Linked DNA regions of Homo sapiens: region 2 is linked to region 1. Evidence: promoter capture Hi-C in human tissues and cell types (Jung and others, 2019). All regions are on one chromosome and are shown on one strand. Each heading gives the region's core, a stretch centred on a gene start or on the middle of the fragment in contact. The rest is flanking DNA. Distances are from core to core; before and after follow the strand shown.

The links. Contacts are between HindIII fragments. The study calls those that stand out against the background at their distance.
Region 2: a fragment that was not itself captured here is called in contact with the fragment with the promoter of CDH22 in region 1 in 2 of the 25 tissues and cell types used here (dorsolateral prefrontal cortex and spleen).

What each region holds. Positions count from the first base shown.
Region 1 is chr20:46,306,491-46,310,658 of GRCh38, reverse strand. It overlaps CDH22 (cadherin 22), which reads left to right and starts at 2,161. Exons shown (of 12, transcript NM_021248.3): 1 at 2,161-2,404. The HindIII fragment of the contact is 29,361 bases long and covers 1-4,168 here.
Region 2 is chr20:46,680,883-46,685,050 of GRCh38, reverse strand. It overlaps TP53RK (TP53 regulating kinase), which reads left to right. Exons shown (of 2, transcript NM_033550.4): 2 at 1-686. It also overlaps a transcript of SLC13A3 not described here. Among named protein-coding and RNA genes, the nearest start is that of TP53RK-DT, 6.3 kb to the left of the region's middle. RefSeq lists an enhancer at 1,240-1,751. The HindIII fragment of the contact is 7,307 bases long and covers 1-4,168 here.

The DNA of each region.
Region 1 (4,168 bases), core at 912-3,411:
TAAAAGCAGAACTATGGCACACAGCAAGTGCTCAATAAACATTCAATGTGTTCTCAGAGCCTAGCCATAGTGCTCACAACAGAGTGGACACTCAGAGAAAGTTTGTTGAAGGAAGGAAGAATTGGAAATAACGGTAGAATGAGCCTGAAAATAGGAAACATTGGGATAGGAAAACCTGAGGGTCTAATAAAGAGTCATGGGGAGCTGGGTGCAGCAGCACATGCCTGGTGTCCCAGTTACTTGAGAGGCTGAGGCAGAATGATCACCTGAGTCCAGGAATCCAGCCTGGACAACATAGTGAGACCCCCATCTCAAAAAAAAATAAAAATAAAAGAGAGAGAAGAGAGAGACCAGAGCAAAAGAGAAAGATGTGACAACAGTTCATTCAATAACATTTATTGAGCACCTACTGTGTGCATGCAGATGTGACAGCAACAGTGTCCCAGACCAAAACAACCTGTGGACAACTAAGTAGGTCTGACTCCAGAGATGAACAGCACACACCAGAGCCTGGAGGAAGAGGCAAAGAAGGAATGGGAACTGGAGCAAACAGCAAAAGTGAGTCAGAGCGGGAGGAGAGAACCAAAAGTGAAGAGATGCACCTGGAAGGCTGGCCTCTGGTCTCTGAAAGCATGAAAGAGTGGAGGCTAAGAATAGAGAGGAGAGGGGAAGAGAGAGATGGAGAAAAGGAAGGCGATAGAAAGGCAAGGCTGGAAGAGATCAATGAAGGGAAATAAACCAAGAGAAGGACGTAGGGGAGGGAACAGACTGGCACAGTGGAGAATACATCTCAAAATAAATAAATGAATGATGGAGTTTAGTAGGAGGGGCCAGAGGGGCAGCCAGCAGGAGAGGTGATTCCAATCATCAGCAAGACGGACTAGGGTGTGGAGATGGAGATGGAAATTGGGGAAGGAGGCGAGGAGGAGAGAAGGATAGGGGCGAGGTAGAGCTGGGGGTCCTGGAGGGCCCTGCCCCCTCTTTGCCATGAACTTCAGCAGCTGCTTGTGGGTGATTAAATGGCTGGTCATTGGCAGCTTGGCGGGACAGAGGTCTGCAGCTGTCCAGTCTCCTGTTATCCTTCACTCACCTATCTGGAAGCCATGGGGAATAGGGGGGCGGGCAACTCCTAAGGGGACCTACAACCCAAGACAAAGGGTGGGTCTATGGGAGTCACTGGTCCTATCCTACCATCAACGACCTCATATTGGGAACTCAGGAGTGGGGTGGGAGGGTCTCCTCCATTAGGCCTCATCCCAGAGAGATGAAGTAGTAAGGAGAGCCAGGCAGCCAGGAGAAAGAAACAGGGCCAGGTGGAAAAAACATCAGGGAGCAGACCAGCCGGATTTTTAAAAGAACGGAAAACCCAACCAGCAAGGAGTTTCTGGGCAGTGGGAAGATTTTATTGGGAGACTTCTCCAGGTCAAGGTGGCACCAAGTTAAGGATGGAGGTGTCTTGTTTTGCCTGCTTACTTTGTTGGTTGCAAGGATGTCCAGCGGGACTCTCCAGAGGAAAAGCCCACAAGTTTCTCTCCCGGGGACACCCGACCTCCCACCTGCCTGGAGACTCAGCCCTGGGCACCTGGTCGGTGTCCACCTCAATGCACAGTGACTGTTTCTGAACTGGCAGATCTGGTCTGTGCAAGGTGCCTTTCTGGGCAGCAAGCCGGGGCGGCCACTGTTCGAGAAGCCTGCTCCTACCCTGGCCTGCGCCCCTGCTCCTCTGAAGGCGGCCTCCCGCAGTAGTCAGGGGGCGGAAATGGGAAGCCCTATTCGCAGTAAAATCAGGTGGGGAAATAGGCTCTGGTCTCAAACTGCGGCCACCTGGGGAGCTGCCAGGCGAGGAGGTAGATGGTCCCCCTCCTGGGGGCGCTCCCTTCGCGCGGATCTGGGGTTGGAGGAGGGAGGGGCACTGTCCCCTGGGGGGTTTCCTGGGACTGGGCCGCCCGAGAGAGGGAAAGGCTGTCCCCTCCTGGTGTAGGAGGGGCGCGATCCGGGGGGCGGGGGCTGGGGTTCCCCGGCTGCGGGGGTCCGGGCCGGCGGCCGCCTGCGGCTTGGCGCTGCGCGGCTCCTGCCCGGCGGGCCCTGCATTCTCCGAGTCTCCACCAGAGGCTGCGGGAGGAAGGAAGGGATCCGTCCCTTGCACACTTCCCCCCAGTCAGACACGCACACTCCCTCGCTCCCGCTCGCTCGCTCACTCCCTCGCTCTCTCGCTCTCTCGCTCTCTCGCTCACACACACGCGCGCACACGCCGCCGCGGCTCCCCCTCTCGCTCCCGCTCTCCCTCCGGCTCCTGCGGGCGGCCGCGGGGCTCCGGACTCGCCCGCTGCCCGCGCCGGGGCTCCCGCCCCACGCAGCGTCCCGAGGCGGCAGGACTAGGGGGAGCCCCGGGCCGCTCCCCGAGGTAAGAGCGCGGGGTGCCGCGGGAGGAGCGGCCGGATCGCCGCCGAGGGGAGGCTGCCCGGCAGGGAGGGAGCCCCCTGGCCGGCGGGAGCGGCCGGGCAGGCGGCGCGGGGGGCGAGCCTCCAGCCGCAGGAGGAGCCGGGGTGCCTGCGCCCGGCCCTGCGCGCCCCCTCCTCTCGGCCGGGAGGGCGGGGAGGGAGTTTCCCACGTCCAAACTTTCCCCGGCGCGGAGCCGAGCCGCCTCTCGGCCCGAAGCCCGCAGCTCCCACCCGTCCCCACAACCTCGTCCGCCGCGCGCCCGGGAGCCTCCGGGACCCCCGCGGGCCGAGGGGTGGCAGCGCCAGGGGCCGAGCCGGCGCGCCAAAAGGGGCTGGGAAGGTGGCGCACAGCCCTGACGCGAGGGCTGGGACCCAGGCGTTCCCGGTCCCCCAACCCTGCTAGCGGGGCTCGGCTCCCCGGCCCCTCCCAGAGGCGGGGTCCGGGGCCGGGAAAATACCGCACGGCGCGAGCGTGTGCGCGCGGTGTGTGTGTGCGAGGTCGTGCCGCGTCCGGGGACACCCGGAGGCTGACTCCAGCCGCGGCGACACGCACGGTTCTGGTCCCCTCTGAGCCGGGGAGGCGGCCCACAGGGACCCCTGCCGGCCCCACCGGCGCGACCCCCCCTGCCCTATGGCCGTCGGGCGGGCTGGCGGTGAGCGAGAGCCAGCGCTGCTCTCTTCCTTAGGACCCGACTCCGGAGACACCGTCCCCGCTGGGGAAGAAGGACGGGGCCCCCGACAGCCTAACGTCCAAAGAGAGCGCCACTTAGGGCTAACCCTCGGGGGCCGCGGCGTTTACTGTGAAGAGTGGACTGCGTGGGCGCGCGGGGTGCCGGGCAGCCCTGGGTGGGCACAGTGTGGACCCGTCTCGCTCGCGCCTCCCCGCTGCCTCTTCTCTGGCAACGTCGGGCCCTGTCCCAGGCGGGGCTGCAGAGGGTAGGGCTGATCCAGGATCCCCCGAGGTCTCCCCGAGGTGCAGGGCACCCCCTTGTGGCGGGCAGAGAAGCTGCTGTTTGAAGCTGCTCAGGTCTTCCGAGGTGCTCGCTCCTTGGAACCTCTTCTCTCCAAACCCTTCGGGCGTCGCCAGGGTTGCGCATGCCAGCTTCTTTTTCCGTGGGGCTGATTCCAGCACTCCCCAGGTTTCTGGGGCTGGCCGAGGTGCCCCCAGCACAGGCAGCGGCTCATTTGAGGGCTTTGGCTGTTGCCAGCTCTCTCTCCCTCTCCACCCAGGTTCAGGATCTCATCCTCTTCTCCCACTGGTCAGCGCCAATACCCTATATCAGCATCACCACTGCCCTAGGGCCCAAAGGCTCCTCCCTAACCACCGCGACTCTCTGTCCTTCATTTGTATCCCGTATATGTGTCCATCAGTGCCCACTCCGTCCCCCTCAGTTGCCCCTAGTCTACAGCCCTTGTTGAAACTTGGCCTCTACACCCATAGTGACATCCTTTGGTCTTTGCCCACCAATGACCATTTCCTCGTCCCCCCCAACCCCGACCCATCTTCTATCCTGTCTGCCTCAGTTTTTCTGTAGCACTCAACTGTTCCCTGCCCCAGCCATTTCTCTACTTCACCCTTATTTCCCTCCTTGTCCCAGTGTCTGGGACACTCCTCTTCCATTCCTCCTGGAAGGGAAGGGCATTGCCAACATTTAAACACTGCTTCCTGGAGATGTCTGTGTGCCCTTCCCGGTCCACCACTGCCAGTGCCTCGGGGGCAGGTACTT
Region 2 (4,168 bases), core at 862-3,361, 370 kb before region 1:
GATCTAAAATAACTCTTAAGTTAGGCATTATCCCCATTTTATAGATGGAGAAACTGGCCCCAAAAGGTGGGAACTTGTCCAAGACGTCACAGGTAGCAAGAGGTACTTTTACCTGGCTCCAAATCTGTGTTCTTTCCACTGACAAATGAGATATGGGATATGGTGCATCTTTACAGTACTATAATAAGTATTGGCGTATAACATTATTTTCAAGGAACTCCAAGGGCCACAGGAGCTGACAGGTTTTTCAATTAATATTCCCAACATGAATGAGATGCCTCATTCCTCAGTTTCCTCACGTGTACTATAAGGCTAGTACCTGCTTTGTTGGGGTATGGTTGGCTCGTGTGCATTAAGTCAACAAATCCCTAGTTGATAGGGTTTGGCTGTGTCCCCATCCAAATCTCATCTTGAATTGTTCCCGTAATCCCCACGTGACATGGGAGGGACCCAGTGGGAGGTAATTTAATCCTCGGGGCGGCTACCTCCGTGCTGTTCTCGTGATAGCGAGTGAGTTCTCACGAGATCTGATGGTTTTATAAGGGGCTTTTCCCTCTTGTTCGGCACTTCCTGCTGCCACGTGGAGAAGGGTGTGTTTGTTTCCCCATCTGCCATGATTATAAGTTTTCTGAGGCATCCCCAGCCATGCTGAACTGTGAGTTATTAAACTTTTCCTTTATAAATTACCCGGTCTCGGGTATGTCTTTATCAGCAGTGTGAGAACGGACTAATACACTAGTACTCACTATGCGCCGGGCACTGGAGATCTAATAGAGGGGAACATGAAGCTTACTTTCCTGGGGAACATAAGACAGTTTCAGACAGTGATGAGTGAAGATGTGAAGGAAAACCAGAAACACAGGAGATGAAGAGAGTATATCCCAGGCAGGCTGTGGCGTGCGAAGTTGGCGAAGAAGAAACATCCCCGACAGCAAGGCTGGTGTGGCCGGCATTAGTGAGCAAGGGGGAGGAGCAGAACATGAGATGGGAGAGGCGGGGCCGGATCCTGCAGGGCCCTGTTACAAGGTTGGGTTTTGTTCTTAATGGGACTCAGGGTTTTTAACAGGGTGATACCTGATTGTTTTGAAAGGGTTGCATTGGTTGCTGGCAGAAAACCATAGAGGGCAAGAGTGGAAGCAAGAAACCTGGAAGTGAAAAGGCGACCGAAACCAGCTGGTCCAGTAAAAACAGTAGCCAGGGTGGAAGCTGTGGCGAGCATGCTCCAACTGCTTGGCACAGGACCTGGCAGCCACTGAGGCAGGGAACGCGGTGGAGAAGCAGGCTTGTCTGGGGGTAACACCCGAGGCTCGTTGTCTCATGGTCACGGAGATCAAGGACAGGGACCCACAAAGAGTGAGGTGAAGAGCAGAAATTTAATAGTTGAAAGAAAGAGAATAGCGCTCTGCTACAAGAGGGGTCCTGGAAAAATGGGTTGCTGGATCTGCAGTGAAATGCAAGGGAGTTTTATAGATGAGCTGGTGAGGAGGTGCTGTCTGATCTACATAGGGTGTGAAAAACTGGTTGGACCCAGGTGTGCCATTGGCACAGGGTATGAATCTCGGCACCCCCACCCCAGTCTTTTATTATGCAGGCGAGTTCTCTGCCTGAGCTGTGCCATGTTGCCCATTTCTTTATTACTGTACACGTGGTAAAAGAAAAGGGAAGATGGAGCCTCGTGTTAGACATGCCTGGCCCCCAGTTAGCCCTTCTCTATTGGCACAGCTACCAGCATTCCCCCGTGCAAGCTTCCAGCTTCCTTATCTATGTTTGCAGCTGGATTTTTCAGGCTGCTCTTTGTTAGAAAAGAAATGATTTCTGGGGCTGCTTTTTTGTTAGAAGGGAAATTCCGCCGAGGACTCTTTTGCCCTGAATATCTGCCTAAATAATTTCTATCTCCGGTATCAGTGGCCAGTAGCAGTGGGGGTAGCCGCAGCTGTCAGGAAGCAGTAATGATCTTTGCAAGTATCAAGAGGGAGAGTGGCAGATATTGGAGACTGGAGAAACGTCACAAATGCCCCCAGGAGGAGAATCGTCCATCTGCACACTTAGCCCTTGGCCCACAGTGGGAAATAAAGGGTTAACAAATGTTCCTAGGTGAACAGTGGATTCCTTTCCTAGTTCCTCTCACAAAGGGCTAAGGAACCCTCTGCACTTTCAGATCCCTTGACGTCCACCGGGGAGCTGCAGGTGCTTTGCAGTGCTGAGCCAACAGCACTAGCAGTTTTGTGTGAATCCCCAGCTAAACCCAACCAGATGAGGATTATAATCTCCATTTTATGGTGGAGGAAACACTGGGCAATAGGAAATATGTCCTAGGGTCACAATAAGTGACAGAGCTGGGATTCAGACCCATGCTTTTAACAACAGCAGCTGACTTTATAGAGTTACGTTCTTTCCATGCATTAACCCATTTTACAGAAGAAGCAAATGAGACACAGAGAAATTAAGTCCTGCCCCAGGCCACTCAGTTAGTAAATGGCAGAACCAGGGAAATGTGATATGACACCGAGATGCGACCAACACTTGACACAGGCCCACATTCCTGGAACATTTAAAAGTGCTTTTGTGGCCAGTCCATGGGGCCAAGAGAGGTAGTTCCAGAGTAGAGTTGCTTTAAAGCTGGCATAGTGAGTGCTCCAAACAAGCTGTGTTCTTATTGTTGGATGAGCTGAGCTGACCACGCCCACACCACGTGCTACCTTAGGGGTTGGGAACATCTACATTAGCGAAGGCATGCAGGGCATAATCTCTGATTTAACTGCAAGAATCCACCATATTCCTGACCCTGGTTCCAATAAAACTTTATTTACAAATCAGACAGTCGGCCCGTGGGCGATAGTTTGCCAATTTGATTTTTAAAACCATCCCATTAAGATATTTTTTGGATTATTGAGTTTTTGGATGCCTCCTTAAATTTGTGCCTCACTTGCTTCACCCTAGTCCTAACCCAGCTGTCACTGACTGCCAGAGCCCTGATGGAGGAGCCCATGTTCTTACAAGGGTCTGCACCTGCTGTGGTTTGAATGTGTTCCCCGTATTTCATGTGTTGGAAACTGAATGCCCAACTTAGCAGTATTGAAAGATGGGGCCTTTAAGAGGTGATTGGATCCTAAGGCCTCTGCCCTCATGAATTGATTAATCCACGTGTGGACTAATAGATTAATGGGTTATTATGAGAGCAGGACTGGTGGCTTTATAAGAGGAAGAGAGACCTGAGCTAGCACACCCAGCCCCCTTGTCACATGATGCCATGTGCCGCCTCAGGTCTCTGTAGAGTCCCCACCTTCAAGAAGGCTGTGCCCCCACCAGATGTGCCCCCTCGACCTTGTATTCCTCCATAACAGTAAGAAATAAACTCCTTTTCTTTATAAATTACCCAGTTTTAAGTATTCTGTTAAAAGCAATAGAAAACAAATGAATGCAGCCTGAACCTCTTGGGGAACTAGGAGTCTTCCCTTGCGTCCTTTAATTCTAGGCACCGCAATTTCAATGGACTGTGCACTTTTCTGCCACCAGGGGTCGTAAGTTACTGTCATTCTTGGTGCGAACAGGTAAACCTCCCTTCACTTTCTCTCTTCTCTTCCTCCTCCCTCCTCCCTCCTTCCCCTCTTTCTTCCTCCCTTTCTTTTCTCCCCTTCTCCTTCCTCTACTTCCATCTTTTCTTCCCAAGTCCATGCCCCTCTCTCCCTCCCTCCTTTCCTTGAACGTGTTCATTTATTCACTCAACGCCACCTTAGCTGAGCACCTAAGTGTAGCAGGCACTGTGCTAATTATGCACCATGTAATGAGGGAGACGGACGTGAGGATGTCTAGTTCCTTCCAGTCTTAATGTTTTCATCCATTCTCTCTTCACTCACTCCTTCACTGGGTACTTAGTGAGCACATGGGCTGCGTCTGGCTCTTCTGAAGAAGCTGCAGGGATGACAAGGTCCAGCCGCGGCCTGGGAGGCCCTTGTCCTGGCCCCTTCCGTTCTTCCTTACTCAGCAGCCCAGGGGACCCTTTTAAAGCCAGAACATGCCACTTCTCTATTCACAAATGTGCTGGCTTCCCAGCCCATGTCTCCTTGTTTACCAGGTGCATGGCCTAGGATCCCCTCCTTGTACCTCTCTGAGCCTCAGTGTCCTCATCTGTAAAATGGACTCACAGTGGTGCTGCATGGTGGAGTTG